Regions from separate parts of the Homo sapiens genome. Here all the other regions are linked to region 4. Evidence: promoter capture Hi-C in human tissues and cell types (Jung and others, 2019). All regions are on one chromosome and are shown on one strand. The core of a region is centred on a gene start or on the middle of the fragment in contact, and the rest is flanking DNA. Distances in the headings are between cores, read along the strand shown.

Evidence for each region. The method cuts DNA at HindIII sites, captures the fragments that hold promoters and counts their contacts. A contact is called where the count stands out against the background at its distance.
Region 1: a fragment that was not itself captured here is called in contact with the fragment with the promoter of NAT10 in region 4 in 1 of the 25 tissues and cell types used here (liver).
Region 2: a fragment that was not itself captured here is called in contact with the fragment with the promoter of NAT10 in region 4 in 1 of the 25 tissues and cell types used here (neural progenitor cells).
Region 3: a contact is called between a fragment that was not itself captured here and the fragment with the promoter of NAT10 in region 4, in 1 of the 25 tissues and cell types used here (hippocampus).
Region 5: a fragment that was not itself captured here is called in contact with the fragment with the promoter of NAT10 in region 4 in 1 of the 25 tissues and cell types used here (aorta).

Annotation. Positions count from the first base shown.
Region 1 is chr11:34,381,490-34,387,583 of GRCh38, forward strand. No RefSeq gene overlaps it. Among named protein-coding and RNA genes, the nearest start is that of ABTB2, 27 kb to the left of the region's middle. The HindIII fragment of the contact is 5,435 bases long and covers 1,190-6,094 here.
Region 2 is chr11:34,404,704-34,410,112 of GRCh38, forward strand. No RefSeq gene overlaps it. Among named protein-coding and RNA genes, the nearest start is that of CAT, 32 kb to the right of the region's middle. The HindIII fragment of the contact is 7,882 bases long and covers 1-5,409 here.
Region 3 is chr11:33,716,081-33,721,406 of GRCh38, forward strand. CD59 (CD59 molecule (CD59 blood group)) reads right to left here. Exons shown (of 4, transcript NM_000611.6): 3 at 1,290-1,391. Among named protein-coding and RNA genes, the nearest start is that of CD59, 18 kb to the right of the region's middle. The HindIII fragment of the contact is 4,662 bases long and covers 1,314-5,326 here.
Region 4 is chr11:34,102,253-34,108,359 of GRCh38, forward strand. NAT10 (N-acetyltransferase 10) reads left to right here and starts at 3,377. Exons shown (of 29, transcript NM_024662.3): 1 at 3,377-3,540; 2 at 5,959-6,081. The coding sequence starts at 5,974. CAPRIN1 (cell cycle associated protein 1) reads left to right here. Exons shown (of 19, transcript NM_005898.5): 19 at 1-358. RefSeq lists an enhancer at 3,130-3,589. The HindIII fragment of the contact is 6,988 bases long and covers 1-6,107 here.
Region 5 is chr11:33,702,004-33,708,113 of GRCh38, forward strand. It overlaps CD59 (CD59 molecule (CD59 blood group)), which reads right to left. Exons shown (of 4, transcript NM_000611.6): 4 at 1,007-6,110. It also overlaps a transcript of C11orf91 not described here. Among named protein-coding and RNA genes, the nearest start is that of C11orf91, 4.2 kb to the left of the region's middle. The HindIII fragment of the contact is 4,215 bases long and covers 1-3,774 here.

The DNA.
Region 1 (6,094 bases), core at 2,657-5,156, 280 kb after region 4:
AAGACACTGTAGAAATATATTTCTAGATGTGGAAGATGTCCATAATATATTGTCAAATTTTAAAAAGATGTGTTACAGAACACTATTGCAAAAATAAAAATACATAGATGGGTGAAATATGATATGTTAGTAGTGGTTTTCCCTTGAGGAAAGGGATTGTGGATTTTTTTTTCTTGAAAAAGTTTATTTTGCTTCCCTGTCCTTTCTGAGTTCTTTGTAGTGAAACTATGTTGTTCTTATATAAGAAAAAGAAGAAAAGGAAGACTTTACCAAAAACATATAAATATGAAAGCATAATACTAATGGGATCACAGGAGAAAGGCCTTATTTTTTGCAGCCAGCTCTTATATAGTACCTACTATGCACCATGCATATTTATTTACATTTATTAACTTGTTTTTCTCATCACAACCCTATGATCTTTTCCACTGATGAGGCAACCAAAGCACAGTGATGGTCAGTAACTTGATAAGGTCATAGAGCTAGTAGAGCCAGGATTTGGAGCCCAAGAATCTAGCTAGTTCTAGACTCTGTGCTCTTAACAACCACTGTACTATGAGGAAAGAAATCTAGGTATGTGCCTTCTGTCATCACATCTCCATGATGTCCATTTTTCATGCCTGCTTGATTCCGGATAGGCTGAAAAGGAGTAGTGGGCCAGTTTTGATGGCACATATTAGATGCAATCTGCTATGCCCTTCAGGAGCTGGCTTTGAGGCTGATCCTAGACATAATGCAGTGGGTGAAATGTATTTTAGTGTTTCCTGCCCTGCCTACTTGCTAAATGTAATGCCTTCACCTGCTTATTGAAACTAATAAGGTTCACTGATGGTGTCTGGAATTTTCCTGGCATATTTTTACTATGTTGAAGCCTAGTTATCTTATTCTCTTAACACTTGGCTTTGTACTAGGCAAATACTAGCAAATCTTCAGAAATAAATTAATGCTAAAATGATAATGGGCACCAGTGTGTTGCTACATCATCCTTCCAGGAAACATGTATATGTAAATAGATGCCTTCTAAAAGTTATTTTTAATGCCAAAGAATTCATTTTCATGGTAGATATTTTGGACGTTGCAGGGAGAATATTTTAGGCATTAAAGCTTAGCTGGCTTCACTAATAGCTGTTTCCAGTTTTCTTATCTCTTGCCAACTTCCCTATAAAGGCTGAGAAAACTAAATATTCACTTTCCCAGCCTCCTTGCAGCTAGGGGTGGCACAGTTCTAGACCATGAGATGTGGGCAGTGGTCTGTTGGTGGTTTGTGGAGAAAGCTTTTGCTTTTCTGATAAAAGCAAAATGTTGACACTTGTACCTTGCAATGCCTCCTCCTACCTGCCTCTGGTGCCTTAATCTTTATACTTGGTGATGTCTTGGTCATTTGTGATTGGGAGGAAGAGAACAGAAGAACTGCAGAGATGCTGGACCTGAAATTATGGGGTCACTGAATCAACGCCAGCAGTTGCCTATATCACTTTTTTAATAGGTAGAAAAATAATCCCTATGTGTTAAACCACAGTTAGCCAGATTGTCTTTCACTTTCAGCCAAAGCATTCCTAATTGATGTGCACATTTTCATTTTGCATTTTGCATTTCAAAATGAACTATGTGCGCATAGTTCATTTTCCTGGCTCTAGTTTTACCCAGAACATTGAAGTACGGTTCCAACACTACAGGAAGGCAAACAAAATCAAAGACCCACCCAATTGTGGGTACCTGTTCATAGCATTTCTGAGCATGTTATACGTCCTTTACTTAATTTCTGGTGACTTTAAAAAGAAAGACAATAAGACTAAAAAATGGAGACCATTGTCTAAGATTCATCATAGGTTAAGAAATGCAATATATAGCATTAAAAATGCTATATTAGTCTGGGTGCGGTGGCTCACGCCTGTAATCCCAACACTTTGGGAGGCCGAGGCGGTGGATCACGAGGTCAGGAGATCGAGACCATCCTGGTTAACATGGTGAAACCCTGTTTCTACTAAAAATACAAAAAATTAGCCGGGCGTGGTGGCGGGCGCCTGTAGTCCCAGCTACTCGGGAGGCTGAGGCAGGAGAATGGCGTGAACCCAGGAGGCAGAGGTTGCAGTGAGCCGAGATAGCGCCACCGCAGTCCGGCCTGGGTGAAAGAGCGAGACTCCGTCTAAAAAAAAAAAAAAATTGCTGTATTATTTTACTGACTTGACAAAAACATTTGATGACAACCATTTATTCAGACTTTTGGTTACTATTTTTCAGTTGATAAATCCATCAGATTCTTACTAGTACATAATGCAGGAGCTAGTTGGTCGGGTTTATTTTCTTTCCTTTCTATTCACTTTCTTTTTAATTTTTCCTCTTTTAGTTCCTTCCTTCCCTCCCTTCTTCCTCCCTCCTTGCTTGCTTCCTTCCTTCCCTTCTCTCCTTCCTTTTCCTTCTTTCCTTTCTACCTTCTCTTCTCCCTTTTCTTTTTTATACTATAATCTCTTACAGTAAAAAATGTATAGTGTAATAATAACGCAGCAAGCATCTCAGTCAAGATCCATGTGCTGGGCATCTTTTATTTGTCCCCTAGATCTAGCCACCATCTGACATTGATCTGGGAGACTGACCTGTGTGGATCTGTGAGCAATTTTCCCCTCTGACTTCCTCTTGGGCCTGGCTGATGGGGAGACACAGCAGGAGATTGTAGGGAGGAAAAGAGAGTGGTGTTAAGGCTTATATTCCCTTGGCTCCTAATGTGATATTACCTCTGGCTGACTGGGTTTCTCCACTAAAGGTCACTGCTCCTCTTAACATGGCAGAATCTACTTAATTTTCTCTCCTTCTAGGAATCACATCTTTTCCTTGTCCCTTCAGGTCTAGGGATGGTCACATTAATGGTTGGCTACCATTAGCCTTAGGTTGCAAAACCATCTCTTGTGTCTCCCCTATACCTGTACCTTTGTGATTAGCTGTCTCATAAATGAATCCTCCTTAAATGACTCTATTTTTCTTTTGTTTCTTTTTTCTTCTCTGAAACCTTTTAAAGACCACTACTCTATTTTGAGTGAGCCCTCTGTTTCCCTTTGGAAACTTGATCGATACAAACTAGATGCTGCATTGTCCAAAACAGCAGCCATTGGGCTATTTATATTTAAATTTTAAATAACTAAAATGAAATAATATTAATTTTTTTTTCTTGAGACGGAGTCTTGCTCTGTCGCCCAGGCTGGAGTGCAATGGTACGATCTCAGCTTACTGCAGCCTCTGCCTCCTGGGTTCAAGCGATTCTCCTGCCTCAGCCTCCCAAGTAGCTGGGATTACAGGTGCCTGCCACCATGCCCAGCTAATTTTTGTATTTTTAGTAGAGATGGGGTTTCACCATGTTGGCCAGGCTGATCTTGAACTCCTGACCTCAGGTGATCCACCCACCTCAGCCTCCCAAAGTGCTGGGATTACAGGCCTGAGCCACCACGCCTGGCCGAAATAATATTAAAATTTATCTCCTCAGTCACACTAGCCACATTTCCAGTTCTCAGTAGCCACATATGACAAGAAGCTGTAGTGTTGGACATCTCAGATCTAGAGCAGTTTCTTCATTACAGGAAGTCCTGCTGAATAGCACCAATGGAAATTGACAGTCCCCAGACCTCCCTTTGTATGACTTTTTATGTGATTTCTCCATCCTGCTACTTCTTCCTGTCTGCATCACTTTTTTTTCTCTCTTACATTTATAGTAATCACATCCTTGCTTTTCTTTATAATTTTTCCACCTTTGTAAGCATCCTAAACAATGCATTTTAAGTTTGCCCATTTTCAATTTTAGTATGTAATTTTGCAGTGTTTTTGTTGTCTTGTTTCTTGACTGTTTTTAACATCCACTCATGTGGTATGTAGCTGTTGTTTATTTGCATTGCTATATAGCATTCCATTGCATGAAAATATCACACAAAAGTTGCATTCTCCTGTTGCTGGATGTTTGGATTATTTCCAGTTTTCAGTTATTACAAACCATGTACATGTCTCTATGTATATTCTTGTATACACAGACATACCTACATTCCTATATGTTATGTATCTGGAGTGAAATTAAATTGCTAGGTCACAGGATATGCATTGCTTCCCCATTAAAAAATAATGCCATCTTTTTCCAAAGTGTTTGAACCCATTTACACTCCTATCAACAGTACATGAGGATACCCATTTTTTTTTTTTTTGGAGACGGAGTCTCGCTCTGTCGCCCAGGCTGGAGTGCAGTGGTGTGATCTAGGCTCACTGCAAGCTCCGCCTCCCTGGTTCATGCCATCATGCCATTCTCCTGCTTCAGCCTCCTGAGTAGCTGGGACTACAGGCGCCCACCACCACGCCCGGCTAATTTTTGTATTTTTAGTAGAGACGGGGTTTCACCGTGTTAGCCACGATGGTCTCGATCTCCTGACCTCGTAATCTGCCCGCCTCGGCCTCCCAAAGTACTGGGATTACAGGCGTGAGCCACCGTGCCTGGCCGAGGATACCCATTGTTTTACACCCTCACCAACACTTGGTATTTCAGATGGTTTACATTTTTTTTAAATTTAATATCCAAATTTATTTTTACCGTTTTTTTTTATTGTGCTTTAAGTTCTAGGGTACATATGCACAACGTGCAGGTTTGTTACATATGTATACATGTGCCATGTTGGTGTGCTGCACCCACTAACTCACCATTTACATTAGGTATATCTCCTAATGCTATCCCTCCCCCCTCCCCCCACCCCACGACAGGCGCCAGTGTGTGATGTTCCCCACCCTGTGGGGAACGTGTGTCCAAGTGTTCTCATTGTTCAATTCCCACCTATGAGTGAGAACATGCGGTGTTTGATTTTCTGTCCTTGTGATAGTTTGCTCAGACTAATGGTTTCCAGCTTCATCCATGTCCCTACAAAGGACATGAACTCATCCTTTTTTATGGCTACATAGTATTCTATGGTGTGTATGTGCCACATTTTTTAAATCCAGTCTATCACTGATGGACATTTGGGTTGGTTCCAAGTCTTTGCTATTGTGAATAGTGCCGCAATAAACATCAGATGGTTTACATTTTAACCATTCTGATGAGTGTGTAGCGGTGTCTCACTGTGATTTTTAAATTGCATTTTCCTTCTTACCAATGAGGTCAGCATCTTTTCAAGTCCAATTTTATTTCTTCTTACATATATAATTGAGTGTCTCAGCATTAGTATTAAAAATACTTGTCATTTTCCTCATACACTGTATTGCCACTCTGTCTAAATCAAGGTCCACATAAGTGTGAGTCTCTTTTTAGTTTCTCTTTTATGTTAGCTCTTGGTTTGTCTATCACTGTATCAATTCTACATTGTTTTAACTACTGTAGCTTTGATATCTATATATCTTGATATCTCTTAGAGCAAATCCTCTGACATTTTTCTACTTATTCAAGATTGTCTTGGATACTTTTGGCCCTTTACATTATCATATATGTTTTAAAACCAGCTTGTCAAGTTTTAAAACAAAACAAAATCCCAAACCCTGTTGAATCTTTCAGTCAATGAATATGGTATGAATTTCCATTTAATCATGTGTCCTTTAATATACTTCAACATAGTTATAAAATTTATAATTACATTTCATAATAATTTTTTAAAAACCTAATTTATAATTAAATTTTATTAAAATTAAAAATTTTTTTTTTTTTGGAAATGGAGTCTCACTCTGTCACCCAGGCTGGAGTGCAGTGGCACAATCTCAGCTCACTGCAACCTTTGCCTCCTAGGTTCAAGCAATTCTCCTGCCTCAGCCTCCCAAGTAGCTAGGACTACAGGTGCCCGCCACCACGCCTGGCTAATTTTTTCCCTGGCTAATTTTTTGTATTTTAGGAGAGACAGGGTTTCACTGTGTTGCCCAGGCTGGTCTCAAACTCCTGAGCTCAGGCAATCTGCCTGCCTCAGCCTCCCAAAGTTCTGGGATTACAGGCGTGAGCCACCGCACCTGGCCAAATTTTTTTTTTAAAGGCACAAGACCCCTGAAGAGGCTTGAACCTTCTAAAAATGATTTATTTCTATGTACTTACCATTACTGATTCTATTGTTTATACTATCACTTTAAAAATTTAATTTTCTAATTGTTTATT
Region 2 (5,409 bases), core at 1,404-3,903, 300 kb after region 4:
CAGAGCTATGATTTAGGCTTCATGCCTCTGACCACCTCCTCAGCCTCAAGTGTTATCACATTCCTGAAGCTCTACCGCCACTTTTTCTCCAATTGTGTTTGAAACTTCTGATCTAGATGGCAGCGGATCTTCTAGTTGAGAACGTTTGTCTGGGTTGTTCCAGTTGTTTTCAGGACACTTCACATCAAACTTTATGTAAAGATCACCTTGTTCAAAGGGATTAGGATATTGTGGCATTTCTTCACCTCAAATCCCCAGAGTGTGTTTTGGAAACACTGAAGTAACAAAAAGGGCAGAGCTTTGCCCCCACTTATTTGCTAAATGCTGTTTTTACTGTGGGGCCCTATGCAAAATGACCTAACCTCTTTGAGGCAGTTTCTTAATTTTGAGATTTAGAGTAACATTCATTTTCTGGGGTTGCTGTGAGAATCAAACACAATATTGGTTATGCCATTCCTGGCACAACCGAAAGAGTAGCAATGCCTGAGTAATAGAAAGCACGTAACATTTATAATTAGGAGAATATGAGTCAGATCGGGCTTTGCATTTCTGGTCACGTGACCTTCAGCAAGCGACAAATGTGAACTTCAATTTCCTCATCCATGACATAGGACTGATATCAACATCTTCCCCACTGGATTGAGAGAAAAAGTGAAAGTAACTTCCTTTTCCCTTCTCTCCCATCTCCTCACTTCTCTCTCCCTCTACCTTCCTATTTCCCCACTTCTCTTTTCCTCCACCCCCATCTCCTTCTCTCTCCCTCCAACCCCCCATCTCTCCACTTCTCTCTCCCTCCACCGTTTCATCTCCTTACTTCTCTCTCCCTCGACCCCTCCCATCTCTCCACTTCTCTCTCCCTCCACCCTCCCATCTCCACACTTCTCTCTCTCTCCACCCCTTCCATCTCTCCACTTCTGTCTCCCTCCACCCCTGTTTCCCTCCACCCTTTCATCTCTCCACTTCTCTCTCTCTCCACCCTATCTCCTTACTTCTCTCTCCTTCCACCCTCCCATCTCCACACTTCTCTCTCCACCCCTTCCATCTCTCCACTTCTGTTTCCCTCCAACCTTCCATCTCTCCCCCTCCACCCTTCCATCTCTCCACTTCTCTTTCCCTCCAATCTTCCATCTCTCCCCCTCCACCCTCCCATCTCTCCACTTCTCTCTCTCTCCACCCTCCCATCTCTCCACTTCTCTCTCCCTCCACCATCCCATCTCCACACTTCTCTCTCTCTCCACCCCTCCCATCTCTCCACTTCTCTCTCCCTCTACCCTCCCATTTCTCCACTTCTCCCTCTTCACCCTTCCCCTCACCCCAAACACACTTTCCTGGTATTGCCTAAATTCCTTATGAGCATTCAATGCTTTCTATTGATAGTGTTTTCCTTGGGTCTTCTTTTTTTAAAAAGAAATCCTTTTGAGACAACCAGAATATTGACTACTTGATGATTTTCTCATGAATTCAACTGCTCTACCTGGTACATTTACTAAAGGACATTGAGTTCACTGGATCCCTGAAAGGAGAAGAAGGAAAAAAAAAAAGGGAAATTCAGCCTTTTTTCCTACTCCTAAATATATCTCACAATGTTGTCTTAGCCTAGCACATTTTAAAAAAATCTTTGGTACAGAAGTTCTTTTAGTAATCTGATAAGCCAACTTTAAAGGAATATTTCATGCATATGAAAGGTAAGATTTGATGAGGCTTTCTTGACATATATAAAAGAATAGAGATTAAAGCCATAATTTAATATTTGCCCTTTAAGTATGTCCATCAAATACAATTTTATGTGAAATACTTTCCACGAGTTCGGCTTTCTAGTGGACTTTGCTTTCAGAAATAGAGAAAGTTTCATGAAAAACAAATTTATGTCACCACTGTGTTCTAGTAGTTGGTAAATATACTAGACAACGTATTGCTTTTGCCAGAGTCAATAATCATTGACTCCTGCATGTGTCAGCAGACATTTACCAGTGTAAGGACTCTACATGGGAAATTAAGCTTTTTTTGGGAGTAGGTAGAAAGGAGGGCAGAGTATCAACAAACAGGGAAGGTCTGGGAGTCAGTAGACCTGGGTTCTAGTCCTCTCTTTTAATTAGTTTTGAACCCTATATACACAGATATAACCTATTCAGAGTTATTTTTAAATTGATAAATGGAGGGGATTGGGCAGTTCATTCCAGCTCAGTCAATTGGGAACAGTTGATTGATTCTTGATACGGTGATATTGCTAACAGGAGGACAACTAGATCTTAAGATCCATAGCACAGGGATCATGACTGTCTTGTTAACTGTTGAACCTCTGGTATTTGCATGCATAGATACCCAATAGAAACCTGTTGAATCTGGAACAACTGAGGGTTGGCTAGCCAGCAGAATTTCATTATTTTCAGTGCAGAGCTAGATCCTCCTATAGTTCCTAAGCTATGAATTTAAAAGTTAATAATCAGTGTACATTTGGGGGAACCACACAGGGAAAGAAATTCTACCATGACAGATTCCACTGATGGTAGGAATGAGGATTCTGATACCCCAGCCTCCTCTCTGAAGGTCAGGTCGTTTTATGACATGCCCAAAGAGCATGACTTATGCTGACAGCTTCATCAGTTCAACAGAGTTCTTTTTTCTCAATGGAACAGATGTCTATTGTGTTGATGTTGCCTGACCTAACAATAACTGACTTCTCCAGTGGATCTTGGTTGTTTTTCTTCCCAGTTACCCTTGGAATTTATCACCATCAACTCCCCCATGTGCCAGTGGTAGTTTTCTGTGGATCCCAAAAGAAGATCAAGGCCCTGGAAAAATTAAGGAAAATCAGGGATTGTGTTGGTGCATCCTGTTCTTAGGTTGAAAAAGTGCAACTGTAACTCCACCCCCCACAGCAATCCAGCTTAACTGGATATTCCAGAACAAGGCTGCCCACTGGGCTGGACACATCCCAAGAAGGGTGGGGAGAGTTACAAAAACCAGGTCCGCCCTTAGCCCAATCCAGCCAGCAAATAGCAGAGGGACTTGTTTTTCCTAAATTCAGTTATTAAAATAGAAGAACTTCTCTCAGCATTTAATGATATTGTTTTGTCCAAAATTACTTTTCTTGTTTAGAGCTCAACATATTCATGTCAAATATCTTTATGGTTGGACACATATTTGTAACTCTTTACATTCCTAGCTAATGGAAAGTTGGGAGTCATCATTGTAATTTTCCCAGGATGCTTTAAGATGCTTCATCATAAACACATCCTATGTTTGAATGATGGTTGGCAATGTTGAGATTGACAGCTTCAATATGCACTTTAATTTCTCAATAACATAAGTCATAGTTAGATACATTGTAGTTTTTTCCTCCTTTATTTTTCTGATACCTGCCTTCAGAAGTGAAGTTCAACAGTAGGGGAGCACTTGCCTTCCATTAATATTTAGATGGACCATACTGACATCTCATTAACTAACTTACAAAGTGTCACATGTTATCTGTGACAGCATGGATGAACCTGGAGGACATTATGTTAAGTGAAATAAGCCAGGCACAGATTCTCACTTATATGTAGAATCTAAAAATGTTGAACTCATAGAAGCAGAAAGTAGAATGGTGATTGCTAGGGGCTGCAGGTGAAGAGTGCTGGGGAGATATTGGTCAAAGGACACAAAATTTCAGTTCATCAGGAAGAAAAGTTCAATAAATCTATTGTACGATATGGAGACTATAGTTAATGTATTCTTGAGTATTGCTAAAAGAGTAGATTTTAAATGTTCTCACAACAAAAAAATGATAAGTATGTGAGGCCACACACAGGTTAATTAGTCGATTTAGCCATCCCACAATGTCCACGTATTTCAAAACACATCATCTTTTACCCAATAAATATATACAATTATTTGTGTCAATTAAAAAAAAAGACTCACAGAGTACAGATTAGAATGGAGGAGGATGGAGATTAAATCTGGAGGAGCAAGCAGAAAATGTCCAGTTGTCAAGTGAAGTAAGCTAAGCGATGACCTGGAGACACACTGTAATTGATCCAACTCACAGTGGAAGCTGGAAAGGATCAAAGGTCCTGGCAGGGAGCAACAGAGGCTGGGAGAAAGAAGGGGCTTTAACCTAAGGAGAGGTGCAGCAGTGTATGCAGGAGATAGGGGTTTACATAAGAGCCACTGGAGAAACATCGTCCATTATTGGATCCCTGAATGTTCCCTGAATGTTCTCTGTGGGCTCTGTTTGTTTCTTTCTTACTTTCTGTTTCTTCTTTAGGGTTCTCTAACAGGTCTGCTGACTTGGCAAAAATGTCTGGTAGCCCTAGCTAGCTCCTTCCACTTATATTTAAACTTGAAATATTCATTCTCATGAAAATGATGATATAAGCAATAGATTTCCAGATCTACCCATAAAATTCCCTTTTCATTCAAATGTGACTGGAGTCTTAACAAGATATTAACATTTCAAAGCCAGCCTCAAGCATAAAAAGTGATGTTACCTAAGAAGTCAAAGGAGAAAAGAGTGACAGCCTGTCTGGAGTTAGGCAATCCCTGGCCCCACAACATGGATGGAAATAATTAAGGAGAAGATGAAAATAATTTGAGGCTGGGCATGGTGGCTCATGCCTGTAATCCCAACACTTTGGAAGGTCAAGGTGGGAGAATCTTTTGAGGCCAGGAGTTTGAGACCAGCTAGGCAACGTGGCTAAACTGTAGTGTCTTTACAAAATATACAAAAATTAGCTGGGTGTTGTGACATGTGCTGGGGAAGCTGAGGTGGGAGAATCACTTGAGCCTGGGAGGTCAAGTGATCCTCCCAGTGAACTGTGATTGTGCCACTGCACTCCAGCATGGGTGACAGAGTAAGACTCTATCTCCAAAACAAACAAACAAACAAACAAACAAACAAAAATACATTTGAGGGATAAAGGCGGTGCCATACTATTGAGGTTCACAGAGTGGAAGGAAGAAAGATCCATGCTATGGTGCTAGTAAGAGAAGTTGTTGGAGCACAAATCTCTGTTGAGCTCAAGGAGGCAGCAGTTAGGAGTGGTCATTGCGGGGATTAGAGATTTCAGAGTATTTTTATAAATGGCACTACCCTCAGATGGGGGAAAAGCAATGGCACAACACCCACCCAACTTGACAGTGTCAAGGACCATTTGATAACATGAGAACAACCTGAGCCGCAAATTTTGTGACAGTCCTGCGCCATCTACAATAGCTGATACTCAAGGGGCAGAGCAGAACTAGTTGCCTACAAGAATCAAATAATTTTGGGAGATAGATTCAAAATTTCTTCTGCTGAAAAGCTAGTCATAGTATATTAAAAACAAAAAAACAAACAACAACAACAACAAAAACACTGGGTCAAACCTTAAAAGATAAAATGGACTTGGGAAGGAAAATGTGATGGTTTAGTCTATTTACATTTGTTGT
Region 3 (5,326 bases), core at 2,395-4,894, 390 kb before region 4:
AGTGAATGAATATGGTCTTCCAGTGGGGGCAGAGGGACTGGTGCCCTACAGAATCAAGAGCTCTGAATGGAAGGTTTGGAGTTTTAGCTGCAATCCAGCTAAACTATATCAAATTTATCAAATCCAGCTAAATATATCAAAATTATCAGATGCCCCTGTTTTTTTAGACAGGGTAACTATAATTTGTCTTTAGTTATTGAGGGATTTCTCCTTTCTGGGGAAGTTAATCATCTTTATCTCAGGTTTTTCTGAACATGTGGGTGTCCCAAGGCTTTTCTGAGTTTACCTGACATGTTCACCATTTCTTGATGTTGACACTGGGGGGAGCTGGTGTAGAAGGTCTAAGAGTACAAATAACCTTGTGGAGTGTTTTTATTATTAATCTCTTAGAAATCTAAGCCTGAGGGTTTTACCTTGGACACTAAGAACATTCTGAAACTGCCATTCCTCGCTGGCATCATTTGCACACATCGATTCTATCCAGAACCACACCCCAGCAAGAACAGAGGGCATGTCTTTGCTGGTTTCTTTCCTCTGTCTACCACTTCCTAAACTCTATTTTAACAGGGTGATGGAGGTGAATATTCTGTAGTCTAACAAATTTGGAAAATGCAGACTGGACAGGACTTGTGCATGTTAGCATTGCCCATCCCCAAATTCATGAGCACCTTGCTCTGAGGCTACCGAGCCCTGGCACCTGCTGTTGCCCCTCCCAGGCACACCCTTCCCTTCTTAGCCCTCTTACCTCCTACGTGTCCTTTGAGCTCAGCTTGAGTCTCCTCAGGACTCTGAATATACCAGATACCCCATGGAATGAGACAGAGGCATATATAATGACATTTAGGACAGCCAAACAGGCCTTTGTCATAATTTTAATTGTATGTGTCCTTTCTTTATCTTTGCATCCCTAGCTCCTAACCCTCTGCTGGGCACACAGTAGGTTCTCCAAGGTCTGGGAGGCAGCACAGGGCTGCTGTAAAAGAGCACAAGCTTTGGAATCAGATGGACTTCCATGTTCAATTCCTGAGTCGGTTACTTAACCATAATTTCTTGCTTAATCTGAACCTCCATTTCCACATTTATCAAATGGAAATAAAAGATCACCCTTAGAAGTGCAAAACATTAAATTTAAAATGTATGAAGAAAGTGCTTAGCCCAATACACACCTGACGCTAATAAATGGTAGCTATTACTTGATGCAAGCCTAATGAGGATTACAGTGGCACAATTTTTTTCCCAGGCACTTATTACCCCATTACATTTAGGAGACAGACAGGGGAGGCTCTTACCAGCTTTGGTAATGAGACACGCATCAAAATCAGATGAACAATTGACGGCTGTTTTGCAGTCAGCAGTTGGGTTAGGACAGTTGTAGCACTGCAGGCTATGACCTAGAATCAGGAAGAAAGTCAGGATCTCTTAAAGCAGCACTGACTTGTCCCCTGGCAGCCCACCATCTCCATTAATATGGGCCCAAAGTCAGCAACTTGTGGTATACTTCCACTCCCGCACAAATGTATAGCAGTTATATCTTTCCAAATTCAAACTACAGTTCCAGCAACATTTTTTGGACCCTGATGCAAGCACAAAGGAAATATCCACATTTGAATATCCATCTAACTGTGCAATTGAGAAGCTTCCTCCTAACCTGCAACTGGAAGGAGATTAGTCTGCAATGTAATGATGTGTTAAGAAGAAATTACCGAGAAACAAACAGAATTCTATAAGTGTCTTCCAAGCAATGAATATGCCCAATTAAATCACATCCTCGTGGGTTGATGATCAATGTCTGGCAATACCTATCTGCGTGAAAATACATTTTCAAAATGAAATATGTAAAATGTCATCACAGATTAGTATTAATAGATGAACATCTGCAATTGATTTGATGCGAGGGAACACTAATTTTGAACCCCAATTAAGCAAATGGTTATCCCCCTAAAAAGAATTCTATTCCCCTCATTAGTAGATGTGTATTATTATGCTGGACTCAATAATTATGTTATGAATTTTGTCAATAAAAAAATCTGTGAAAATTTTGTTTCTTATTATTGAGGTAAGTCTCATAATACCCTTGATTTTGCCTCTTGGTCTGCAAAGCTTAAAATATTTACTATCTGGGCCAGGCGCAGTGGCTCACGCCTGTAATCCCAGCACTTAGGGAAGCCGAGGAGGGTGGATCACCTGAGGTCAGGAGTTTGACACCAGCCTGGCCAACATAGCGAAACCCCATCTCTACTAAAAATAAAAAAATTAGCCAGGCATGGTGGTGCACACCTATAATCCCAGCTACTTGGGAGGCTGAGGCAGGAGAATCGCTTGAACCCAGGAGGCAGAGGTTGCAGTGAGCCACAATTGCACCACTGCACTCCAGCTTGGGTGACAGAGCAAAACTCTGTTTAAAAAAAAAAAAAAATTGCTATCTGGTCCTGTACAGAAAAAGTTTGGTAACCTCTGGGACAGGGTATCATTACTGAACTACCCCCTTCTAAGGGACTGACCGAATGCCAGGAGTACACACTGTCAAAGACAAGACAACAGCTGTGCACTTTAAACCCATGGGCATAGGACAGCTGGGTACCAGCAGACACAACGTGAGGGTCATCTTACATCAGAAGCAAATTGCCTCCAGTTCCCTAGTTTGAAAAACAATTATTGCTCCCAGTCAATTCTTAAGACTCATCCTTGCTAGCTGTCAGTTTTTGCTGGGTTATTTTTCCTTCTCCATTTTTGTAACAACAGTGACAACAAAAAGATGAGTTACAGTCCACACGTGTGATGGGGAGAGACTGAGGAAGCAAGAGTTGGAAGGAAATCTTCCTGGTTTGTATGGATACCCCCTTTTCCATCATCAGAGATAAACTATCTTCATGCCATATGACTTCTACCATGTAATCAGTATTTGGAAGTACCTACCTCTGTGAAAAGACATTTTCAAAGATGAAACACGTAAAATCTCACAAAAGAATGTCATGGTTAAACCAAGTGTGGGTTTTAGAGCCCAACAGCTGACTTCTAGTTCTAAGGCTGAAGGCTAGGTTTATCACCATGGAAATAGATTTTTCAGTGGAAAGTCCAGTGGAAGCAAGGTGGGTCCTCACTTTCTGAGCACACACAGGAACCCAGTTCTCTAGAGCATCTGAAATGGCCATGTCTGCCCTCACAGGTGTGAAATCCTACCCAATAGAGGATCCTCTGACTTGTGAAGGTTACAGATTAATGCCTTGAAATATTAGTTTTAAAAAACAACAACAAACTAGGCCAGGTGTGGCGGCTCACACCTACAATCCCAGCACTTTGGGAGGCCGAGGTGGGTGGATCACTTGTAGCCAGGAGTTTGAGACCACCCTGGCCAACATGGTGAAACCTCGCCTCTACAAAATATACAAAGATTAGCCGGGCATGGTGGTACATGCCTGTAATCCCAGCTATTCAGGAGGCTAAGGCATGAGAATCATTTGAGCTTGGGAGGTGGAGGGTGCAGTGAGCCAAGCTTGCACCACTGCACTCCAGCCTGGGAGACAGAGCGAGACCATGTCTAAAAAATAAATAAAATAAAATAAAATAAAAACCAACCTCCTCCCCAACTTTTTTGCAGATGACAAGACAGATGTCTGGAGAGGTGATGTGACTCACACAAGGACACCTGGCTACAAAGCAGCAGAGCTGGCGGCAGCCCTGGGGCCTGTGGGCAGGGCCCCATCCACCAGGCTTTGTTTGTTCTCCCCCACTGTCAGCCTGTGGCTGTCATGCCCGTGTGAGAGGGAAGCCACAAGGAGAAGGCGCAAAGATGCAATTTTTCTTTGGTCCCTTCCTTGTGCCAGACATGTATTCACACGCATGAAATGAAAAGAGTCTAAGATGAAGGGTGTTGTTCTTGAGACTGGCCATGTTTGAGGGCCATTTTAAAAGGTTACCTGTAGACATGGATTTTTGTGGTGGCTAGATCCCGGGCTCATTTGGCCTCTTAAGAAAGCTTTAGAAGGAAAGGCTAAAACCCATGGTTGGAACGTCTGTGGGCAAAAATATTCATGGCAAACATGTTCATTCAGTGTTCAAATATATGTGCATCTATGTGCTAAGCTCTTCATAGGATTGTTAAGAGAACTAGGCTCAATTATCTTCATCCCCACCTTGCAAGAGAAAACTAAGACTAAGATGTTAACTAAATTGTTCAAAGCCACACAGCTACTAAGTGACCGAGCTGAGCTCAAACTCAGGCTGTCAGTTCTAAAATCCAAGCTTGGTTAACCATGATGTTCTTCTAATTGACCTGAGTGGGAAGAGAAGGAAACTCTAGATTATGGTGGAAACTGAGGTCAAAAACAAGCAACAGGGCCAGGTGCAATGGCTCACGCCTGTAATCCCAACACTTTGGCAGGCTGAGGTAGGTGGATCATTTGAGGTCAGGAATTCCAGACCAGCCTGGCCAACATGGTGAAAGCCCGCCTCTACTAAAAATACAAAAATTAAAAAGTAAATAAAAAAAAATACAAAAATTAGCCAGGCATAGTGGCATGCTCCTGTAATCCCAGCTACTCAGAAGACTGAGGCAGGAGAATCGCTGGAACCTGGGACACGGAGGTTGCAGTGAGCCGAGATCGCGCCACTGCGCTCCAGCCTGGGCGACAGAGTGAGACTCCATCCCCCTGAAAAAAACAAACAAAAAAAAACAAGCAATAGGTCAGTGGACAATGGTTTGATATTTTAGCCACTAAGCCAGGGTAGACGAGGTTTCCCCTGGGCCATAAGAGGCAGAGCTCAGAGGAAAGTTCCCCTGCAGGGTCCTGAGACCCTTTTGGGCAGCAGCAAAGAAGGCCTCTCATCTGTGGGCATGTGAGCTTCACATCTCAATTCTCTGAGAAAGGGCTGAAGTGCACCCCAAGACTTGTCACAGAGAAGCTGATGGTCCCAAGCTTGCTCCATAAACAAATGCAGACTGCTGGAAGTAGGATGTCACTGGGCTATTAAAATTCTAGAAAATATTCCAACTTAAGCAGCAGAGACAGAAAAAAAGAAGGAACCAAGAAAAATGAATAAATAAAAAATAATTATAGAAAAAATATAGTGTTTTAACACAGGTGAACCACATTACAGTGCACCCTGGCTAGAATCACGGAAGGTGGGGAAGAAGGGGTGCCATGACTTCTCTTTCTGCTCAGAAAGGGAGAACATATTAAAGTGTGTCCTGGCGCCAAGTTACTACTTTGCCTTCATTTCCTCAGCTGTAATATGGGAGGTAACAGTACCGACCTCCCGGAATGGCTGGACGGATTTAAATGAGACAGGCTCTGGCACAGTCCCCAGTAAACAATAAACAGTGAAT
Region 4 (6,107 bases), core at 2,127-4,626:
AAGTGTTTTAGGACATTTGTTCATTATATTTTCCGTCATATAACTAGAGGAAGTGGAATGCAGATAAGTGCCGAATTCAAACCCTTCATTTTATGTTTAAGCTCCTGAATCTGCATTCCACTTGGGTTGTTTTTAAGCATTCTAAATTTTAGTTGATTATAAGTTAGATTTCACAGAATCAGTATTGCCCTTGATCTTGTCCTTTTTATGGAGTTAACGGGGAGGAAGACCCCTCAGGAAAACGAAAGTAAATTGTTAAGGCTCATCTTCATACCTTTTTCCATTTTGAATCCTACAAAAATACTGCAAAAGACTAGTGAATGTTTAAAATTACACTAGATTAAATAATATGAAAGTCTGGTTTTCTCACTGTCCTTGAACGCAGTCTGCTTAAGTTGTTAAAAACCATCCAGCAAAAGCTGTAGGTGAAGAAGTGCTACTGGTGTGAAGAGAGGAAAAGGTTTATAAAAGCAATCTGATAGCCTCATCTAATACACTTCTCAGCTTCTGCTACTAATATCCTACTTTTAACAAGCTGTTCTGAAGCTTAATCCAGTTACATAAGCAGTACGGCTGTTTTGAGTAGAGGCAGTGGAAGATCAGCAGTTTGTTCCTGATCATCTAGCAAAGGCATTTGTGTATTAATGCTTATTTGGAAATACCAATTTTAAGTACTGTGTTTAATAGGGAGACACACTGTATTAAGCAACTAAACTAAGGCTTTATTCAGCAAATTAGGGTATCCTTTGCCCAGCATCATGCCAAGCACTAGGCATTTAGTGGTGACAAAAATTACTGTGGTTTCTGCTTTCATTGAACTGTCTAATCAAAGACTGATGACACCAAAGTGTAGCAGATGCCATGATGGAGCAATGTGGTTGATGGCAGATATTAAAGCCATGACTGAGTGTATACCCTAGTTAAAATGATCAGGGGAGACTTAACTGAAAGGGGTAATTGAGCTAGATTTGAAGGATGAGGAGTAGCAGACTAGTCAAAGAAAGGGAGAGAAGAACATACCTAAACATCTGATCACCAGTGACTGAGAAAGTTATCAGGATCAAGTGGAAAGAGAAAGGACTAGCAGAGTTACAGGTTAGAGAAACAGGTAAAGGCTACTATGGACGGCATAATAGTTGCATCCCATGTTTTGTCTCTTAAGAACAGTTGCAAACTATTGAAGGTTTTAAAGCTGTGTGTTGGGCCGGGTGTGGTGGCTTGTGCCTGTAATCCCAGCACTTTGGGAGGCCGAGGCGGGTGGATCACGAGGTCAGGAGTTTGAGACCAGCCTGGCCAATATGGTGAAATCCCGTCTCTATTAAAAATAAAAAAGTAGCCAGGCGTTGTGGCATGCGCCTGTAGTCTCAGCTATTTGAGAGGCTGAGGCAGAAGAATCGCTTGAACCCGGGAAGTGAAGGTTGCAGTGAGCAGAGATCGCGCCACTGCATTCCAGCCTGGGCGACAGAGCGAGACTTCGTCTCACAAAAAAAAAAAAAAAAAAAAAAAAAAAAAAAAAAAAAAAAAGGCTGTATTGTTTGGGGTGGGGTTGGTGGCTCACTTAATAAAGTTACCATTTAAAGAACATTCAATGCAATGAACAACATATATGGACCAAGAGATGGTAAGGAGGCTTGTTGGAGTGGCCCATGTGAGAAATGGATTCCAACTTAAGGTGCGGATGGGGTGGTGGTAGTGAATGGATTCTATGGATTCCCTATCTCACTGGTCACTACTCAGTATCCTTTGCTGATTTCTCCAGGTCTTGGATGTCAGACTTCATCTCTAGCTGTGTTCTTCCCTGGGTGATCTGATCCAATCCCATGATTTTGAATATGATCAGCATTTTAGTCCTGAATATTTCTAGGCCCCAAACCTCTCAAAACTCATATTCAACATCTTGATATGAATTTCTCAATATTCCAAGTCAACTCCTTGATTACCCAACACCAGTTGTTCATTCATCCAGTTGCTCAGAGCAAATGTTTTGGGTGCCATCTTCAATGTACTTTTATAACCTGCATCTAATCCTTAAGTGAGTCCACGTGGTTCTAACTTGAATATCCAGAGTTATCTTATACTTCTAACTACTACCACAACTACCATCCTAGCACAGGTGACTACAATAGCTTATAATTGTTCTCCTTTTTCTACTTTTGCCTTCCTGTGATTTAGTTTTTGCATAACAGGAAGCCTTTTAAGAGGGCAAAGCAGATTTTCTCATTTCCCTGTCCCCCACAAACTCCAGTGGTTTCTCATCATGACTAGAATTAAATTCTAAATCTGGTCCTTCACTTGCCCACTGCTTTGGCCACACTGACTGCTTTGCCAGGACTCCCCCATCTTGGAGCTTTTGTATGTACATCTTTGGCACGGGGAAGTTTTTCACTCATATTCTCAGGGCTCATTCTTTCTAAATTTCAGGTCCTTGTTCCATCCAGTGTCACCCCGTCAGAGGCCTTCAGTGTTCGTTTCTAAAATAGTATCCTTAGTCACTTTACTCACTGGATACTTCTGCTTAATAGCATTTAAAACTTAACCTAGAATTAACCACGAGGGGCAGGAACATTTTGGACACTATCCCTTGTGAGCAGAATAGTGCGTGGGCATATTCACATTTTGCTGAATGAACTAAAAAATTTCATGATGGATGTTGGATTAAATGGGTAGTGCTGCTGATGACATTAAAAGTGTATCTGGGGAAGGGGTTTGGATTCAGACATTTGCGGTATCCAGGAGGAAACATCAAGCAGTTGATAATGTTTTTTGAAGTTCAGCGATCTGCCCCAAAGTCAAGAATGCAACACTATGTATAGGTTGTCCCTGTAGTCATGTTCTTGGAGTTCACTGGAAGCCCAGGGGGAGTAATTTCATTTGACGACCATATACAGGCCTAATGGGAGCCTGCAAAGTACAGCGGCCGCAGTCATGGGTAGATTACAGGATTCCCATCTGTAAGATCAGTACTGTGGGGGTGGAGGGCCAAGCGAAACCAATAAAATAGGTCTGTTGGCCGAGTTTCCTCAACTTAACGGGGATCGGTTAAATTGAACACAAATCGTTGGATCCGTCGCGTTTCGCGTAACCAGGCTGACGCTGAAAACCCTGGACCTACGTGGGCAGGCCCTGGGGTGCGGACATCTATTTTGCCCTTCTTAGCCGAGGTACTTTAGCTGGGATATGAAGAGTGAAGAGGCAAACCGCAGCCAACACCCAGCTACCGCGAGCAGTGGGACTAAAATGCGCAACCGCAGTGGACATCTAGGCCTCAGCTCCGCTTCTGGTGGCTTACGTCATTACTCAGCGACAGCCTTGAGGAAGGTCCCTTCTCGCTCGCCATCTCTGCGACTTTAATGCGCTTGCGCACGTGCTGTCTACCAGTTCCTGAGAGGGACGCGTGCCGCGGAGCCAGGCTTACTACGTGACCCGGACACCAGGCATACGCTAGGGGCAGTCAGCTGTGCCTTCTCTTTCGGAGTTGTTCCGTGCTCCCACGTGCTTCCCCTTCTCCACTGGCTGGGATCCCCCGGGCTCGGGGCGCAGGTACCCAACGCGGGAGGGCCGGGTATGGATGCCAAGATCGGTGTCTGTGTTCTTCCTGGGTCGAGAGGGGACCGGCCTCAGGATGAAGGCTCTGCATCCGGACGGATACCTGGCCTACGCCGTTTGTCCTCCACCCCTCTTTTGGGGCGCTCCAAGATAACAGAATCACCTCTCCAATACGCAGCCGCTCTCGGCGCGTGCTTCTCGAGCGTCCTCGGGGATTTGCGTGGCTCGATAACCACCTCTAAGTAGTGCCTGTAACTGGGGAGTCGGGGTGAATGGGTGGGTGACAACAGTTGTTTTCCGTGGAGCTTGCCCGCAGTGCCTGGCTGCAGGTCTGGGCATTATACTTAGGGTAATCTGATTCCAGATCCTTCCACGTTCTTAAATCCTTCACTGTGCACATTCCTTTATACTCTTTATTCAGCAGTCACATTCAGGACTTGGTTTTGTTTGCCAGTGCACCTAAAATGGTGCCTGCCACATAGATGTTATGTGTAGATAGACGAATGAGTGAGCGAAAAATAATCATCTCCTTCAAGGCCTTCCCCATCCAGGCCTTCCATGACAGCTTCAGCCCATAGTAATCTCAGCCCTTCCTTCATCTGACCGGTCCCTCAGTATAGCTATTTTTTTTTTTTTTACATCTAATTTTACCTGTGTTCTTGTTCCTCATCTCATTCTCTTAAATACCTTCTTCAAGAAGAATGCAAGCTTGAAGTCAAGGGCCTTGTGGTACTACTTCTGGGGCTCCCACAGTAGCTAGAGCAAAAGGCAGCCCCCATTAATTAGTTGTTGATTGATTTTTGCGGGATCTTTATGTGGCCGGCAACACAAGGTTTACAAGTTGGGAAGATTGGCGAACTGGGAAGAGCTCAGGCTTTGGAGTCAGGAAGACTTGAGTGTGAATTCTGTCTGTCGTTTTTCTGCCTCGGGATATTTGAATTCTTTATACTTTCTCCTTTACGTATAAATTGGGGTCCTTGACAGTGACTTAGTGTTTTATAGTAAGACATATGCTAAAATCTGTTTGGATTGGAAGGTTAGAAGGGACAGTTAAGGTATGGTAAGTTTCAGTAAATGAGCTTTATGTTTATAATGCAGTAGGTACCAGAGTTTCTAAGTAGCATGTCACTTTTACATCTAAGTAGCATGTTACTTTTACAGTGATATTTCTGATGGTTTTTTTGATGTATTTATTGGGATGATGCAGTATTTTACTGTAGGTAATCACAGAACTTTTTTTTTTTTTTTTTTGAGACGGAGTCTCACTCTGTCGCCTAGGCTGGAGTGCAATGGCACACCATCTCGGCTCACTGCAACTTCCGCCTACCGGATTCAAGTGATTCTCTTGCCTCAGCCTCTCCTGCAGCTCCACTACCACTCCCGGCTAAGTTTTGTATTTTTAGTAGAGACGGGGTTTCGCCATACTCTTGAATTCCTGACCTCAGGTGATCCACCCGCCTCGGCCTCCCAAAGTGCTGGGCTTACAGGCATGAACCACCACTCCCGGCGAGAACTTTTGAGGTCTGTCTGTACAAAGGCTTCAATATCGTTTTCCCTAAAATGAGGAAACAGTTGGACACATTACATCATGGAATTATTCATTGATGGTTATTGATTTCCCTGACTTTATTAGTAACACGTGAATTTTTTAAGATTCCACAAAAACAAAAGAACAAAATAAAAGTCCCACCATCCAGAAGTAGCTACTTTATACTTTGGTATTTCCTTCCAGTCTTTTTTATTTTTCCCTCTGTTATGTGTATGCATAAGAAATGTTATCATACTTTATTCTGTCATGATCTTGTCATAAGCATCTATATCCATATCCTTAGTTGTTAAAAATGCTTGGCCCAGCATGGTGGCTCACACCTGTAATCCCAGCCCTTTGGGAGGCTGAGGTGGGCAGATTGCGAGGTCAAGAGATCGAGACCATCCTGGCCAACATATGCGCCTGTAGTCCCAGCTACCTGGGAGGTTGAGGCAGGAGGATTGCTTGAACCCAGGAAGCAGAGGTTGCAGTGAGCCGAGATCATGCCATTGCACTCCAGCCTGGCGACAGAGTGAGACTCCGTCTCAAAAACAAACAATGCTTTGGATATTTGGATATCTCCTTATGTATTTTAGTCATTCTTCTACTTTTTTGAATATACAAGTTTCTGGCTTTTAAAAAATATTTAATAGAGGTGAATTACAGGCTTTCCAGGCTGAGGGAAGGTTTTCTCACCTCCCAAGCCTAAGGTTTCCTGAGTTTAAAACTAGAGGCTGATGTCTTCCTGTGGAGCTCGTAGAGGGTTAAGTAAGACAATACTTATAGATATGCCTAGCACAGTCCCAGGCCCCACAAAAGGCAGCCAGCTAATGTTCCTTAGACAATCTAGTGCGCATGGCCAGTTGTATTTCTTTCTCTTTTAGTAATAATTTTTCACCATGCATCGGAAAAAGGTGGATAACCGAATCCGGATTCTCATTGAGAATGGAGTAGCTGAGCGGCAAAGATCTCTCTTTGTTGTAGTTGGGGATCGAGGAAAAGATCAGGTATGGCCTGGTAAATGCTTCCTGAA
Region 5 (6,110 bases), core at 417-2,916, 400 kb before region 4:
CTGGGAAGCTTTTTCTTCCCACACTGAGCTTCCCACACTTAGTTGTCACACGCAGTATTTGCTCTCTGACTTTGGCAGCCACCCATCATTGTTTATTCATACAAGTGATCACTAGGCTGAGGCTCTCAAGAAAATGTATTTCCCCTCAGTCTATGGCTAATACAGGCCATGTGCGATAGCTCAGCACCCAGCCTGTAATCCCAGCACTCTGGGAGTCTGAGGTGGGATCTCTTGAGGCCAAGAGTTTGAGAACAGCCAGGGGCAACATAGCGAGATTCTGTCTCTATAAAATAATTTAAAAAATTAACCAGGTGTGGTGGCATTTGCCTGGAGCCACTCAGGAGCTGAAGTGGGAGGATTTCTTGAACCAAGGAGGCTGAGGTTGAGGCTGCAGTGAGCCACAATCATAGCACTGCACTCCAGCCTGGGTGACAAGGCAGGACCCTGTCTCAAAATAAATAAAATAAAATAAAATAAAAAATACCCTTATCTTCCATTAGTTTCCCCCACATATTTAACTTCCCATAATTTACTGCCCAAGAAGCTCAAACCTCTTTTCCTTTGTCTTATCACTTTTCTACAATCGCCCATTGTTAAAATTGTATATAAGCTCTCAAGCCACTTCTTTGGGTTTTCACTTTGTTTCTGTAAGAACCCCATGTACCTGCGTAATAAACTTTGTCTTCTGTTAATCTGTCTTTGTCAGTTTAATTCTCAGGCCCCAGGCTCTGAACCTAAGAGATTAGAAGAAAAATTTTTTCACCCCTACAGAACCACAGTAATGGTAAGAACCAGGGTTTTGGACTCAAGACTTGGGACCAAACCCTGGATCCACTATGTATTTGGCTGTGCGGCTGAACCTTTCTCAACCTCATTTTTTCATCAATATAATGGGAATAGTAATGGCATCTACTTGCTTAGGTTGGCAAGACTAAGTGAGACAGTTTAAGTACCTGGCAATGGCTTGTGTTCAACATTAGCTCTTGTTATTACATATTAAAGGCCCTTAGAAGGAAAAGAGATTTTGCGTTATATTTTTTAAATGAAGCAATACAATCATTTTTTATGTATATATCTAGTTGAGGAGAAAAAATTACAGATTTTTTCCCCCTTACTCCAAGATAATCTAAACAGATTTTACTCTGGATGGCTTAATTATAACATAATCCATGAAGTTATAGCCAGGGGGTTAAATAAGAAGTTGATGACAAACTTGGTTTCTCTAACAAGTATGCAAGAAAACTCAAGTGCCACAATGAACACCCATAAACTGCTGTCAGGAGGCAAAGTCCCTATGAGGTAATAATAAACCCACGAGGTTAAGGCAAAACCCTACGGTTGTTTCTGCAAACAAATGTCCAGGAAACTCAAGTTTGTGATGAAAGAACAGTCTTGAATTCAACTTCAGCAGAACCTTTCCCTCCCTGGGCTCCAAAGCACTATGTCACCTACCTCTCCACTCAAATGCCCCATTAAGTACCATCCTGTTGGAGCTTCCTAACGCCCCTGCTCCCTGGTTTCATTTGGAACCAACTGAGAGACACAAGTCCCTCTTCGTTGATCAGGGTCAGTTGAAAGATGTAGCTGTCGGCCTGGTAGCCAGGTGGGCTTGCTAATCCTGCACCTCTACCTTAAGCTTACCCAGCGTGAGGCCAGGTTAGAAAGTCACAGGCCTTGGCAGCAGGCAGAGAGCCTTTACTGTCATAGTGAAGAGCTTGCCAAGGACAGGACTGATTCTTCCTCCAGCCTCACCTATCGGGGCAGTCATTGTTCCGCTGTCAGGAGGAGAGGGGCCAGAAGGGTCACACTGAAGAAATGTGACATGAGGGTGGAGGTTCCTGTCCAGCATTCTTCACTCTCTATTTAACCGAGGCTGACTCATTGCAGTTGGCACTAATTTTCCATTGCCACAGCCCTCTCCAGCCAGGAGGGCCTGGAGTACCTGAGGTGCTGTTTGCCGGGTTCCCTTGGTCCTCAGACTGCTCCCTTCAGAGAAAGCACAGAAAGCCTTCTCTGTCCCAAGGAGCCCCCCTTCCCCTCCCCCACTCCAGCTCTGCATCTGGACACACTGTCAGCCATCAGATCCTGACCAGGTGCTCAGCCTCTTTAGGGATATGTCACAATTTGCCGTGCCCGGTGGCTCTGGGCAGCCTTTGGACATGTAGTGGTTGTGTCTTGGAATACAAGAGTTGTGCCTGAATCTGGGACTCTCTGTGACCCTGGGAAAATCACATCAGCTCTCTGAACCCCAATTGTCTCTGATCTATAAAATGAAGACAGTATCTACTTCATAGGATTGATTTGATGGACATATGTATAAGCAGTGCCAGGGACAACTAGTAGGTGGTCATTGGAGTGTGGCTACAGTTATTATACAGTTACACATGGATTCCTTGATTCCCCATTAAGCCCTGGTGGATGAATGAGGAAAATGCAGCAGGGGGTCCATCCTAGAAAACCCAACCCACTCCAGATAATCGCGCCAGCCTCACACCTGAGAAGCTGCTTCTACGACCTGCTGAGGACATAATGATAAACACACACAAGAGGCTACTGTGTCCCAGGCACTTGTCTTAACTCATTTAACTTTTCTAACAACCCTAAACCTAGGGTTCTCATTTTCCAGATGAGAAAACTGAGGCATGTAAGGTTAAGTAACTTGCCTGAGGGTCGCCGATTAGCATCAGAGCCGGCATTTCAAATAGACAGGCCAGCTCTAGAGGCCAGGGTGTTTGGACAGCCTCCAAATTGTCACCCTAGCCTTCAGGGCAAGGCTGCACACACGGCCTCTAGTCTCCTACCCCTCTTCCTGGCAGGAGGCTGGCTCTGACAGGAGGTTGTTTGTGCCACAATTTAAGGACCAAGCTATTCTGGGAAGCCCAGAACAGTCTTTCCTTTATTATTCATCTCAATTAACCATTGTGTTGGTCTGGACTTGGGGGTGCAGGCATTCCCATCTCCCTTTCAAAAAAGTTTCTAAAAAATGCAGAGCAGCCTTTATTCTTGTTTTCCCAGGTAAATGTGGTCCTATGTACTTGCAGAGTAAGAATTTAAAAAAATAAACCTGAGAGGTAGTTTAGTGGAATAGGGAGTACAGAGGCCTGGAAGATGAGGGAGCTGGGTTTAAGCCCCATCAACCGGCATCAACTAGCCATGCTACCTTGGGCAAAATAACCGTAGCTAACACTTAGTGACCACTTACTGTTGTGCGTTCTCATGTTATCCTGACAGTAACACTTATAGGGTAGGTCTGTCAGAATTTTCTGTCCACAAGCAACAGAAGCTTACACTGAGAATTTATTGGAGGGCTTTGAGACAGCTCATGTAATGGAAAGCTCTTAAGAACTAGGTTTAGAAGGTGCAGAGACCAGGGCAACTTCAGGGATCCAGGTAGCAGGAAGGAATCGGTAGCCTCTTTGGTATGGCCACTATGGTGGTAGACACTGTCTACCTTGTTTGCTGAGTCTTCTGGCTTTCTTCCACTCTTCCTGCTCTTGGACATCAGACTCCAGGTTCTTCAGCCTTTGGAATCTAGGACTTGCACCAGTGGGTTGGTTGCCAGGGGCTCTTGGGCCTTTGGCCACAGACTGAAGGCTGGCTGCACTGTCAGCTTCCCCAGTTTTGAGGTTTTTGAACTCAGGCTGAGCCACTACTGGCTTCTCTCTAACCCAGCTTGCAGACGGCCTATTGTGCGACTTCGCCTTCTAACTGTGGGAGCCAGTTCTCCCTAATAACCTCCCTTTCATATATACATATATCCTACTAATTCTGTCCCTCTGGAGAACCCTAATACATGAATTATAACTCTAAGTTTCAGTTCTGGCCATAGCATTATGTCACACCAACACCAGCATCAATATTTTAGGTTGCCTAATTAATGTATCTGTAAACCTATAGCCAGCTTGGGTGGGGCTATTGAGAGTCAGCACCAGCACTGATCATATATAGGATCAGCCTACTGGGGTTGGCCACGTTGTATGTAGCTGCGAATAGCAAGGAGGGGAACAGCAACATCCCTAGGGAAACCGATCACAGAAAGGCAGCTCACTACCCCACAGTAAAAAGAACCTTGAGTTTCCCAGTTCAGTCCCCTGCTGGGTGCATGCTACCCCCCTCCTCTCCCAGAGGCTCTGGACCTACACAGCTGCTGAAAAAGAGAAAATGTCCTTACCTACAATGAACCATCACAGGCACCCACCTAGAAATTAAGGTACTGTGGTCATTTATCTTATCCCAGAATAACAGGAGTGTGTATAAACAGGAAGCTTTAGTTTAGATAAATAAGATTATCCATTACAAAAATTTTATATTGAATAACCTGTAAGTAATTTGAAAAAGAGACTTCTGGCTAGTTTTCACTTATGTCCAAGTCAGTGGGGGTAAATGCATTGTGATTCACTGTAGGTTTTAGACTCTTACAGCCTTAACAACCTTGTAAATCCATAACTAGCATCTTCCTATCTGGCAGACCCTTTACAAATGCATTATCTCAAGCCTCACAACAATTCTTTGAGGTAGACATAGAAAGTGAAAGTTCAGAAAGGGTTTAAAAAAAAAAAAAAAAAAAAACTTGTCCAGAGACATAGCCAATTAGTGGAAGAGGGTTTGAACCCAGGTTCCTAACTACAAAATCCACGGGTTTAACTGCTGCTCTCCTGAAATGAAATATCTACAAGAAGTAGCAGGCATTGAGAAACAGATGGGAAGATAGTGTTTTGATATGATTTTCTGTTTACAGGAAGGCCTAACTACGTCCTGTTCACCTCATGCTATTGGGTAACTTTCCAGTAAAAAACAATTGCACTTTGTTTTCTTTTCCAAAAAGAGGCAGAAACTGATTTCTTCAAAGTAAAAAGGCACCAGGGACCCATTCTAGACTTTCCAAAGCTAGGCACATATTAAAGAGAGTATACAAAATAGGCAGAGAAGTAGACTTGCTGACCTGAGGAGCTGAGTGGGAAGCATGGACTTGCCAACTTACCTAAGTGACCTTGAGCGATCCAGCTAACTTTGCATAGTTTCCTCTTGTGTAAAGTGAGGTGCAAGTACAGATGAAAATGTATATAAAACATAGAGCTTAGAATCCTGTACCAGAAAGCTGCCCTCATCACAATGAATGTCAGTCAGTACTAGCTCCAGCCAGCTGCTCAGCCCATCAAGAATCCCTCAGGGGGATCTGTTAGCATTAGTTCAGATCTGTTGGCAGCAACAGAAACTAATGCGAGCTAGTAGACTTTGAACACTGCTAAAGAACTTACCAAGAGAACTCAGATGTATAAAAGTGGTTAATTCTGTCAAGAGGCCCAAAGTCTTGGGCAGGCTCTTATTTTTTCAGGACACACATAAGACATGGGGGCTAACTGCAAGGACACAAGAAAAATATACCCATACCTTGAAGCCCCCAGTACATTCAAGACCAAGTTTGGCAAATAGATTAGCATCTTTCAGGAAATACCATGAGCTCCACTTATCTACTCATCAGGTGTTCCTTGCACCCCTAGCTCATCCCCCCAAGGGGACAATCCAATGGGCTTATCACCACCCAATACTGAACACTATGACAGTTCCTGTAAATCCAGATGAGTGGAGGGCACAGGGTATTGGCTCTCGAGCAGAGAGCCAGTAGGCATGACTGGTGTTCGATTCCTAACTCCCCTGCTCCCTGGTTTCATTTGGAACCAACTGAGACAGACACATGAATCCCTCTTCGTTGATCAGGGTCAGTTGGAGGATGTAGCTGTCGGCCTGGTAGCCAGGTGGGCTTGCTAATCCTGCACCTCTACCTTAAGCTTACCCAGCGTGAGGCCAGGTTAGAAAGTCACAGGCCTTGGCAGCAGGCAGAGAGCCTTTACTGTCATAGTGAAGAGCTTGCCAAGGACAGGACTGATTCTTCCTCCAGCCTCACCTATCGGGGCAGTCATTGTTCCGCTGTCAGGAGGAGAGGGGCCAGAAGGGTCACATTGAAGAAATGTGACATGAGGGTGGAGGTTCCTGTCCAGCACTCTTACACTCTCTATTTAACCTAGGCTGACTCACTGCAGTTGGCACTAATTTTCTATTGCCACAGCCCTCTCCAGCCAGGAGGGCCTGGAGTACCTGGGGTGCTGTTT